Linked DNA regions of Homo sapiens: regions 1, 3 and 4 are each linked to region 2. The links are contacts of gene promoters, found by promoter capture Hi-C in blood cells and fetal thymus (Javierre and others, 2016). All regions are on one chromosome and are shown on one strand. Each heading gives the region's core, a stretch centred on a gene start or on the middle of the fragment in contact. The rest is flanking DNA. Distances are from core to core; before and after follow the strand shown.

Region 1 (2,700 bases), core at 125-2,624, 230 kb before region 2:
GTTTTTTCTTCCTCTTCTTACAAGCTTGTAAACAGCTGGCATTCAATGATATTCATTGACTGATGGGATGAGTAAATGAATGATGACACAGCTGTTACATGGGCCAAGGGAGTCTTCTGCTCTACATTAGCCTTAGCAGAATTAGTTTAGGAACTGTTTAATGGTGATTGAAGCCCACCAGAGCTATCTTTAGCAAAAGCTGGCCCTTGGTGGGATATTGTTTACAGCAGGCAGGGACAGATGGGAACCAAGGCCTGAATGACAGGGAGCCTCTTGTTTTCATTCCTCTCTGAACGTCTACATGCTTTCTCTGGATGCAGTTTGGGTTTTTTTTTTCTTTTCTTTTTTTTTTTTGAGACGGAGTTTTACTCTTGTTGCCCAGGCTGGAGTGTAGTGGCATGATCTCAGCTCACTGAAACCTCCACCTTCCAGGGTTCAAGAGATTCTCCTGCCTCAGCCTCCCGAGTAGCTGGAATCACAGGTGCCCGCTACCATGCCTGGCTAATTTTTTGTGTTTTTAGTACAGATGGGGTTTCACCATGTTGTCCAGGCTGGTCTTGAACTCCTGACCTCAGGAGATCCACCCGCCTCAGCCTCCCAAAGTGCTGGGATTACAGGCGTGGGCCACCGTGCCTGGCCCAATTTGGTATTTTTAAATTTTCAGTCCACCTAGTCAGAAAATAGCTTTCTAAGCCTCCAGTGTTTGTATTTCCTCTGCTCAAGAGCCCAGAGTGACTGAGACTGAGCCACCTTCATTCCCATTCCTGGGGTCTGCACCTGGCTCAATCAACCAAAATGGCACCTGAGGAGGTGTTATCATGTGGATTTGGCAATCCACTGTTATCATGTGGATTTGGCTATAGGAGCAGTTCTTGGGAAAAAGGGGAGATTCAGGCAAACAACCCAATTGGTATCTCCCGCAAAGCCAAATAATAATTACTACTTGCTTACATTTGCATAGTGCTTTAAGGATACTTGTTATCCATGATCTCATTTGATTCTTGGCACAACCTTATGAGGTAGGCAAAACAGGTATTAATATTCTTACTTCACATCTACTTTATTTCACCTTGCTGTGGGTCTGTTTTTAAAAATTCCTATCTCGGCTGGGCACGGTGGCTCATGCCTGTAATCCCAGCACTTTGGGAGGCTGAGGCGGGCAGATCACGAGGTCAAGAGATCGAGACCGTCCTGGCCAACATGGTGAAACCCTGTCTCTACTAAAAATACAAAAATTAGCTGGGTGTGGTGGCATGCATCTGTAGTCCCAGCTACTCAGGAGGCTGAGGCAGGAGAATTGCTTGAACCTGGGAGGCAGAAGTTGCAGTGAGCCCAGATTGTGCCATTGCACTCCAGCCTGGCGACAGAGCAAGACCCTGTCTCAAAAAAAAAAAAAAAAAAAATTGTATCTCTTCTATTTGCCTTTACATTTATTGAGGGCGTAGATTATATCTTTTTACCTTTGCACTTAGATCTCTAGCACCTAGCTCTGGGCTCTGTACATGATGGGCATTTAATTGATATTTCTTTTCTTTTTCTTTTTTTTTTTTTTTGAGATGGAGTCTCACTCTATTGCCCAGGCTGGAGTGCAGTGGCACGATCTTGGCTCACTGCAACCTCCGCCTCCAGGGTTCAAGCCATTCTCCCGCCTCAGCCTCCCTTAGTTGATATTTCTTAAATTGAATTTCTGTTTTCCAGATGAGAAAACTGAGGTCCAGGCTGGGCGAGGTAGCTCACGCCTGTAATCTCAACACTTTGGGAGGCCAAGGAGGGAGGACCACTTGAGCTCAGGACTTTGGGACCAGCCTGGGCAACATTTGTGAAATCTTGTGTCTACTAAAAAAAAAAAAAAAAAAAAAAAAAGCTGGGCATAGTGATGCATGCCTCTAGTCCCAGCTACTTGGGAGGCTAAGCCAAGAGGATACCTTGGGCCTGGGAGATTGAGGCTGCAGTGATCAGTGATCATGCCACTGCACTCCAGCCTGGGTGACAGAGAGAAATTGTCAGAGAAAGAAAGAAAGAAAGAAAGAAAGAAAGAAAGAAAGAAAGAAAGAAAGAAAGAAAGAAAGAAAGAAAGAAAGAAAGAAAGAAAGAAAGAAAGAAAGAAAGAAAGGAAGGAAGGAAGAAAGAGAAAGAAAGAAAGAAAGAAAGAGAGAAAGAAAGAGAGAGAGAAAGAGAGAAAGAAAAAAGAAAGAAAGAAAGAAAGAAAGAAAGAAAGAAAGAAAGAAAGAAAGAGAAAGAAAGAAAGAAAGAAAGAGGAAGACAGAAAAAAACCTGAGGTCCAGAATGCTGAGTGGCTTGCTTTGGGACACACAACTCTAGGGACAGGAACCTAATGATCCGCAACCAGTTATCATCCCTCTATGTATCCAGTGGATGATTCATAACAACAGAGATAAGCCTTTGGAACCCCAGTTATATGGTGGCTTAGACTAGGTTCACACCTGAGAGGTCTCCAGCAGCTCAGAAAGACCATGCTGTAAGACAAAGCACCCAGGCTCTGAGGTTAGAAGCCTGAAGTCTGGTGGCCTCCAGGAAAACAATCTCAGCCCTCCAAGAAGGGTCCTTGCCAGAGGAGTTGGACAAGCACCTAAGGAAGGCAGGTTATTAAAACCTGAATTTTCTCAGGAGCTGACTCAACTTTCTTAGCTGCCTCACATTTGAGTTTGATGGGAGAGAAAGGAGAAAGAAGCTGAGGTA
Region 2 (2,700 bases), core at 189-2,688:
CTTCCAGGTCTTATTTACCATGCATACCATATGTTTTATTATCTACAGATCTGCATTCTGTCACTATTCTTCCTAATCTCCTTCTAGCCTAATCAAAACACAAGGAAACAAAAAACTAGAAAAACAAAACAAAAAGCTTTATGGATCACACTTTTTATTGGACACGATACTCTTCCTTTTTGCAATGTCCTCCCACTAGGCTCCCAACCAGGCCCTCCTGAAAAATTCTCTCTCAAAACTTTACTCTGTGCATGCACATACTTCTGTTGGGACACCTATTTTATACATACCATCTCAGGCAGAAAATTCCCAAACTGAAATGTACAGGCAACGTACTTTTATTCTACGGAGTTAACAAATTTTTAATTCCTTGTCTATGAGGTTGAAAATCCCAATTAAATTTCTGGTCTTCCCCTCTTGCTCCTGGGTTGTGGTTAAATTCTTGGGGAGTCTTCACAGTACCTAAGTTTTGGAGAAGATGTAGGCACCCGCCCTCATCCCTCCTTCAGATTTTGGCATCCTCTTCCTAGTATCTGTGTGTTGTTTGCATATTTCTGTATCGTTTTGCTTTTACAGAGCCACACTGAAGCTTGAGAATCTGAGGCTTTCTGTAGCTTCCCCGTACACAGAATCATTCCCTCTTTGGAGCCTTGCTACCTACTCCAGACTACTTGGAATGCAGACATTTGCTCATTACTCTGGGACCCAGGGGTATTCCCTTTCTCTTAATCTTATTAATATTTCACTTCAGAAGCATTTCCTGTGTTGTGAAATTTTTCTCAGAGGCTTCTTTAATTGGTTTAGATTTTTAATGGATTTAGTCACATAAAAGCCAATGACTCCCAAATTCTTAAGTCCTGTCCCATCCCAATACCTGAGGCAGGGAGAAAAATATAAATGACCATCGTTCCTAAATCTGATAGCTCAGTGGATACACCCGGGGAGCTTTTAAAATTAAGAGACACTCCCAAGCACAACTCTACAGCATCAGAATTTGTTTTCTTGACGATCACAGACGATCAAGGCAGAATTCTTCCATCAGTGGTGGGCGTGGGGCGGGACTCCACTCGGTCTTTCTGTCCTCTAAGTCTTCTAATTTTTTTCCCAGTAATCCGCCCTCCCGTTCTCCTTCTTTGGCCCATCCCTCTTCTAGTCTTTCCCTGCTCCCCTGCACCAATCTTTCTGCGTCCCGTCCCCTCCCATTCCCCTACCCCACCCCACCCCACCCCACCCCACGTTTCCCGCCTCCCGCGCCTCTCCCGCTTTCCGCCCCCTCGCGTCTCCTCCCCTCCCACCCGCACCTCCACCCCCTGCCTCTCTCCTGCCCGCCCCGCCCCCTCTTCCGCTCTACGTCCCTCCTCACCCATGCGCACTCTCTTCAACCCGCTGCTTCCGGCGGCCTAGGCTTACGTTTACTTTGCGCCGGAAAGAGAACCTGTAAACGCTCTCGGAATTATGGCGGCGGTGGATATCCGAGGTATACTGTATTGCTATATTTTGTCTCTTGATTGTCTGTGGACCAGTTTGGGATGTTATAGCTCGCGGTTTCAAGGTTTAGGTTCCTTTGTGTGAAGTCTCAAGCTTTTTTGAGTGGTTTTTGTGGACAACCCAAGGCTGTGATCTAGCGAAACGTTGACGAGTTTTTTTTTTTTTCTGAGTTCTTGGAGCGTCTCTTGGAAGCGTCGGAGAGAAGGGGTTGGAAGAAGCTCTGGGTTTTGAGCTTTCAGAGCTGGAGTTTTGTTCTACACACGTATCTCTGCAACAACATTAGGGCTATTCTATTGGAGTGAAGGAATGGCGTTTAGGCAGAGAAGGGAATGGGGTAATAAGCCAACTTGATTTGATTCATCTCTTGGGACTTGGCATGGTGGCTGCCTAATTCTTTAGACCGCGCCACACGGGTCCCTGAGCATGAATCCCAGATATTTTCTTTTTTTTTGAGTCGATAATACTTTACATCGAACGTCCAGCAATTATTATGGGCAGGGGTCGTATTTTTTTCACAGCTGAACTGCAGAAGTACTCAAATATTGAATCAGTCAGTGAATAAATGTATGGAGATGTCACCCCTTAACTGCTGCTTGATCTTGGGGAGCATGTAGAGTTGTTTTTGTGTATATAGTACTTGATTTTTAAAGGGAGATGTTTGAGATGCCTTTTTTTAATATTAACTGGATTGGGGTCTAACACATTTATTACAAATATTCTCATTTATACTTATCTGGCGATCTGCAGCACTTCTGGATCATGATTTTACATACGTGTCTTTCATTATTTATTTCATCACTTGCTGATGGTTAGAATGCTGTTAGAATGCTTGGGCTATGTCAACATGTTGCCTTGCTACAGAATAAAAAAGAGAAATATTTAGTTTATAAAATGTTTTACTTATAATTCAGATTGTTAGGATCATGGCAAAGACTCTAAAATAAGAGTGTGTTTGGTGTGTTAAAGGAACAGCAAGGAGGTCAGTGTGGCTGGAGGGTAGTGAGAGAGGATGTGGGAAGGAGATGAAGTCAGAAAGGTGTTGAAAGCTATGATAAGGTCTTTGGCTTTTCCTCTGAGTAAAACGCAGAGCCATTGGAGGGGTTTCCATCAGAGGAATGATGTGATCTGACTTTTTTTTAGGACTACATTGGCTGCTGGGAACAGTGTAGGAGGGCAAGGGTAGAATTAGGAAAACCAGTTAGGAGGCCATTT
Region 3 (2,700 bases), core at 58-2,557, 180 kb before region 2:
ATCTTGTCACAACACTTTTCTGCTTAAAAACTACTTGTGACTCCAGGGTCATTTCCAAGTTCCTTGGCAGGGTCTGTAGTCTTCCAGTCCTGCCCCAGCCCTTCACTGCGGCTCCTTCTTCTCCCTTTCTACCTCATGAAAGTTCTGCTCCAGCTACAAGGGACTATTTCTTAGATATGTCAAGGCCCCTCAGCCCTCTTGGACCTGGACTCACGTTATTCCCTCTGCTGGGAGTGGTCTTTCTTCTGATTCTCCCCCTGGACCAAACCCTGTCCTCTCGTTACAGCACAGAGAGCAGTTGTTTATTCTGTGAGCCCCTTCTAAGGAGCCCCTTCCTCTGTACATTCTAGTTTCAGGCATCCTCCATGTTAGGTGTTCAAACAAGATGGGTGGACGGGGTAGGGTAAGGCATCATCAAGAGCATGAGAGTAGCCAGTGGTCCCCACTTTACCACTTTCTGGCTGGGTAGCTCAGGGGAATATCCTCACTTCTCAGCCACAGCTTCTTCATCTGTAAGTAGAGATTAAAACAGTACATATCCGTAAATAGAGATTAAAACAGTACATCTGTTTTTATATAAGTACTGCACGTAAAATGCTTAGCATGGTGCCTGCCATGTGGTAAGTGCTCAGTAAATGCTAGCAATGATGATGACAGTGTTATAGGTGTAGACTTATATGGCCAGAATGAGAGAAGTTTGGCCTGGTGCAGTGGCTCATGCCTGTAACCCCTGCACTTTGGGAGGCCGAGGACGGTGGATCACCTGAGGTCAGGAGTTTGAGACCAGCCTGGCCAACATGGCGAAACCCCGTCTCTGCTAAAAACACAAAAATTAGCCAGGTGTGGTGGCACATACCTGTAATCCCAGCTACTCAGGAGGCTGAGGCATGAGAATTGCTTGAACCTGAGAGACGGAGTTGCAGTGAGCAGAGATCGCGTCGTGACACTCCAACCTGGGTGACAAAGGGGGACTCCGTCTCAAAAAAAAAAAAAAAAAATAGCTGGGCGTGGTGATGTGTGCCTGTGGTTGAGGCTACTTGGGAGGCTGAGGTGGGAGGATTGCTTGAGCCCAAGGCAGCAGGGGGCAGAGGTTGCAGTGAGCTGAGATTATACCACTGCACTCCAGCCTGGGTGACAGAGTGATACCTTGTCTCAAAACAACAACAACAACAATAACAACAACAACAAACAACAAAAAACAAAAGGGAGAGAGAGAGGTTCCGTCCTAGTTTCCTTTATAGGATCATCTATTTATCCCTCTCTTTTCCTTTCCTTTTTTCTGTGTAGGTGACTGTCGACCTTTTCTAGTAACCACAGTGGTTGGTATCTTTTACCAGTTTCTGCCAAAGTAGGTAGATTCTCAGGCATGCGTGTTGGCTGGGAGGAATCTTGATTTTTTGGAGTGAAATCTTGGATTCTGTCCTGATTATAATTCTGGTCTTGGATGTTGGTTATGTCTTAGAGGCTTTAGCCCTTTCCACCCATGGTGCTGGTGTCTCTTCGCAGAGAACTAGGTGGACACTGCATTAGTCAGGGTGGGGCCTCATGGTCCTGATATATCTTTTCACAGCCAAGGATCTAGTGTCTTAAGAGTTGACTTGCCAGGGCTTGTGACTCTCTGGTGACCAGTGGTCCTTATGCTTTGGGACTCCAGCCAGTATCCCCTGACTACTTTTAATAGCATCAGACTGGTTTGATAGGGAAGACTTTCTGAACCCTGGGATGTGATGGAGCAAGGAGACCCTCCTTCTGTAAAATAACCATTCCCTCTGCTTTTGAGTATGTCAGGAGGGTCTTTCCTGGGATGAATGAGCAGTGAGTAATGCTTCTCCCTTGGCTGACTATGGTTGCTGGTGAACAGTGGAGCTGGGGTCCAGAGGTTTTGGAGTGGACACTTATTCTTTGCCTTTCTGATATATGAGCCTCAGCCTTTCTCACCACTGTCTAAGAGTGCTTTCTGCTGCTCTGGGGATGAGTCATTGGATAGGGCACACATTTTAGAAAAGAAAAAAGATAAGTGGATGGTGATTTGATATGGATGGGGGCAGGAACTGGAGATTCCCCTGAGAAATGACTACCCCTTTGAGGTGGGCATTGGTCGAAGCAACAGCGCCCTAGAGATGGGTAGAAAGTGAGAGATCTTTGGCCGGGTGTGGTGGCTCACGCCTGTAATCCCAGCACTTTGGGAGGCCGAGGTAGGCAGATCACCTGAGGTAAGGAGTTCGAGACCAGCCTGGCCAACAAGGTGAAACCCTGTCTCTGCTGAAAATAGAAAAATTAGCCGGGTGTGGTGGCAGGCGCCTTAATCCCAGCTACTTGGGAGGCAGGGGCAGGAGAATAATTTGAACCTGGGAGGCAGAGGTTGCAATGAGCTGACATCAAGCCATTGCACTCAAACCTGGGGGACAAGAGCGAGACTTCTCTCAAAAAAAAAAAAAAAAGTGAGAGATCTTTTAGTTCAGGGTGTTTCATAGTTTTTATAGCCTAGTGTCTTAAGGGCTGATGGGAGAGGATTTTTTTTTAAATCAAAGTGGAGGTTCTAGGTTGAGAATGCTTTATTTGGGGCCCGAGTGAACAGCTATATGGGACCTACCTGCTACTGCTAGCGCCAAATATATACCTATTTTGAGGGTGAATCTCTAACGGAGAGAGCAGAGCTTTAAGATCGTAGGGATTCCTTTGCTTTATTAGTTTTTTTCT
Region 4 (2,797 bases), core at 46-2,545, 250 kb after region 2:
TTATTGCCTGAGCTCCACCTCCTGTCAGATCAGAGGTGGCATTAGATTCTCATAGGAGCACGAGTCCTATTGTGAACTGCACATGTGAGGGATCTAGGTTGCATGCTCCTTATGAGATCTAATGTCTGATGATCTAAAGTGGAACAGTTTCATCCCCAAACTGCCATCCCACCCCCCACCCCCGCCACCATCTGTGGAAAAATGGTCTGCCATGAAACTGGTCCCTGGTGCCAGAAAGTTTGGGGACCACTGTTGCTATAAAGGAATACTAGAGGCTGGGTAATTTATAAAGGAAAGAATTTTCTTTTGGCTCATGGTTCTGCAGGCTGTACATACTGTGAAGCACGGCACAGCATCTGCTTCTGGTGCGGGCCTCAAGCTGCTTCCACTTGTGGCAGAAGGCAAAAGGGAGCCAGCATGTGCAGAGATCACATGCCAAGAGAGAGGGGAGGGAGGTGGCAGGCTCTTTTTGACAACCAGCTCTCAAGGGAACTAATAGAGTGAGAACTCACTCATTACCACAAGGACAGCCTCAAGCCTTTCGTGAGGGATCTGTCCCCATGACCCAAACACCTCCCACTAGGCCTTCCCTCCAACATTGGGGGTCAGATTTCAACAGGAGGTTTGGAGGGTCAAATATCCAAACTTGAGTAAAGTTATTTTCCTGGTTCTTGTCATGACAATGGAATTTGTATTATATCTTGAACATTTTAAATATTAGGAAATGATATCCTATTTAAGTCTTCTAGTTTAGCAGGATGTCGTCATGTTTAACTTGTAGGCAGTAGCCTACTATAATATTTTGGGCTCCCTTTCCTGGAACTTAGGTTCCAGATTTTGCAGTACTAATCTGGTCTGCTTTGTTCACCCGGTGGTACTGGGATTCGTGCTTGATCATGTCTGTATGGAATGTTGTAATCAACATATGCTTTTAAAGCCATAAGATTGATTAAGATTACAAAATAAGTGAATAGAGAAGAAGAGAAAACATTGTGCCCTGAGGTATGCCAACATTGGAGAGTTGAGGTATACAGGAGGAAACAATCAAGGAGACTAAGAAAGAGTGACTCTGTGGCAAAAGAAAAACCAGATATGAGGGAAGAGGAGGAGAGTGTGATCAATTGTATGAAATTTTATTCATGAAATCAGATGAAAATAAGTAAATCACCAGATTTAGTAATGTGGATGTCATTGATGGTTGGAATGGATCTAAGAGAGAGTAGGAAGAGCAGCTAGTATAGGCAACTCATTTGAGAAATTTTTCTGCATATAGGAACAAAGAAAGAGGTTGGTATCTGGTGGGAAAGTGGTGTCCAGGAAAGTTTGTTAATAAGATAGGAGAAATAATAGCATTTTTATGCTGGATCCTGCAGTGGTGAGCAAGATTTTGATGATACAGGAAAGGAGAGAATTGATGAATCAGTGTCCTTCAGTAGATAAGAGAAGATTGGAGATAAATGAAGATATTTAGTTAGGAGTGTGGATTCTATGGTAACAGGCAGTAAGTGTTGCAGTGCAATTCAAACACCACACACACACACACACACACGCACACACACACTCTATGCATAGTCCTGCACAAAACTCCCCTAACTTCCTACACCAGGCATAACCCCAGGTTTAAGCCACCCCCTCAGGTTCAATAATTTAGTAGAACTACTCATAGAACTCAGGAGAATACTATACTTATGATTACAGTGTTATTATAAAGGATATAAATTAGGAACAGCCAAAAAAAGAGACTCATATGTCGAGGTCCAGGAGGGTCCTGCATGCAGAGCTTCTGTGTTCTGTCCCCATGGGATCAGGGCATGTCACCCTCCTTGCACATTGATGTGTTTACCAACCAGGGAGTTCAACCAAGTTTCACTGTCCAGAATTTTTACTGGGGTTTCATTATATAGGCATGGGTGATTGAACCATTGGCCATGTGACTGAACTGTCTCCAGCTCTCCTCTTCTCCCTTGAGGTTTGGAGGTTGGGTTGATATCACATAGCTCAAAGCCCCAGCCCTCTAGTCACATGGCTGGACTTTTCAGCATGGCCTGCCTGTATCTTTTCATTGAAACTGAAACAAAAGTTATTTTGCGTATACAAATCTTACATTTTGACATTGCAGGTATTAGCTGCTTATCTATAACAGATATTTTTTCTGATTTGTTCTCTTTTGATTTTATGTTGTTTTTATTTCATTTATTTGTCAGCATAGAAGTTTTATTTATTATTATTATTGTTGTTTTTTTAAGAGAGGAGGTCTTGCTGTGTTGCCCAGGCTGGTCTTAAACTCCTGGCCTCAAGTGATTCTCCCACCTCAGCCTCCGGCGTAGTTGGGATTACAGGGATAAGCTACCATACCCACCCAGAAGTTTTAAATTTTTATGTGGTCACATATACTTGGTTTTGAAATTTATAGCCTCTGATGATAAAATCTTCTGATGGGAAAAAAAATGAAATTCATAACCTCAAGGTTTTGTTGGTATTCTCAACTTCAAAATTATAAACATTTATGTTTTATACCTTTTAATATTTAATTCTTTAATTGGTATATAAATATATTTATAAAAAAAAGGAAGGTAGGGGCCGGGCGCAGTGGCTCACGCCTGTAATCCCAGCACTTTGGGAGGCTGAGGCAGGTGGATCACAAGGTCAGGAGTTTGAGACCATCCTGGCCAATATGGTGAAACCCTGTCTCTACTGAAAATATAAAAAATTAGTCGAGTGTGGTGGCAGGCGCCTGTGGTCCCAGCTACTCAGGAGACTGAGACGGGAGAATTACTTGAGCCTGGGAGGTGGAGGT

What was found. The method cuts DNA at HindIII sites, captures the fragments that hold promoters and counts their contacts. A CHiCAGO score of 5 or more calls a contact.
Region 1: a contact is called between a fragment that was not itself captured here and the fragment with the promoter of MED6 in region 2, in 1 of 17 cell types (naive B cells). The highest score is 7.2, in naive B cells.
Region 3: a contact is called between a fragment that was not itself captured here and the fragment with the promoter of MED6 in region 2, in 2 of 17 cell types (total B cells and naive B cells). The highest score is 6.8, in total B cells.
Region 4: a fragment that was not itself captured here is called in contact with the fragment with the promoter of MED6 in region 2 in 2 of 17 cell types (fetal thymus and naive CD4 T cells); the score reaches 6.2 in fetal thymus.

The regions. Positions count from the first base shown.
Region 1 is chr14:70,824,877-70,827,576 of GRCh38, reverse strand. No RefSeq gene overlaps it. Among named protein-coding and RNA genes, the nearest start is that of MAP3K9, 17 kb to the right of the region's middle. The HindIII fragment of the contact is 2,696 bases long and covers 27-2,700 here.
Region 2 is chr14:70,599,393-70,602,092 of GRCh38, reverse strand. It overlaps MED6 (mediator complex subunit 6), which reads left to right and starts at 1,438. Exons shown (of 8, transcript NM_005466.4): 1 at 1,438-1,477. The coding sequence starts at 1,456. RefSeq lists an enhancer at 737-1,936. The HindIII fragment of the contact is 992 bases long and covers 592-1,583 here.
Region 3 is chr14:70,776,575-70,779,274 of GRCh38, reverse strand. The region is part of intron 2 of MAP3K9 (mitogen-activated protein kinase kinase kinase 9); the gene reads left to right. Among named protein-coding and RNA genes, the nearest start is that of MAP3K9-DT, 31 kb to the left of the region's middle. RefSeq lists an enhancer at 2,552-2,631. The HindIII fragment of the contact is 3,380 bases long and covers 1-2,700 here.
Region 4 is chr14:70,353,594-70,356,390 of GRCh38, reverse strand. All of the region lies in intron 3 of SYNJ2BP-COX16 (SYNJ2BP-COX16 readthrough), which reads left to right. All of the region lies in intron 1 of COX16 (cytochrome c oxidase assembly factor COX16), which reads left to right. Among named protein-coding and RNA genes, the nearest start is that of COX16, 4.7 kb to the left of the region's middle. The HindIII fragment of the contact is 8,104 bases long and covers 1-2,797 here.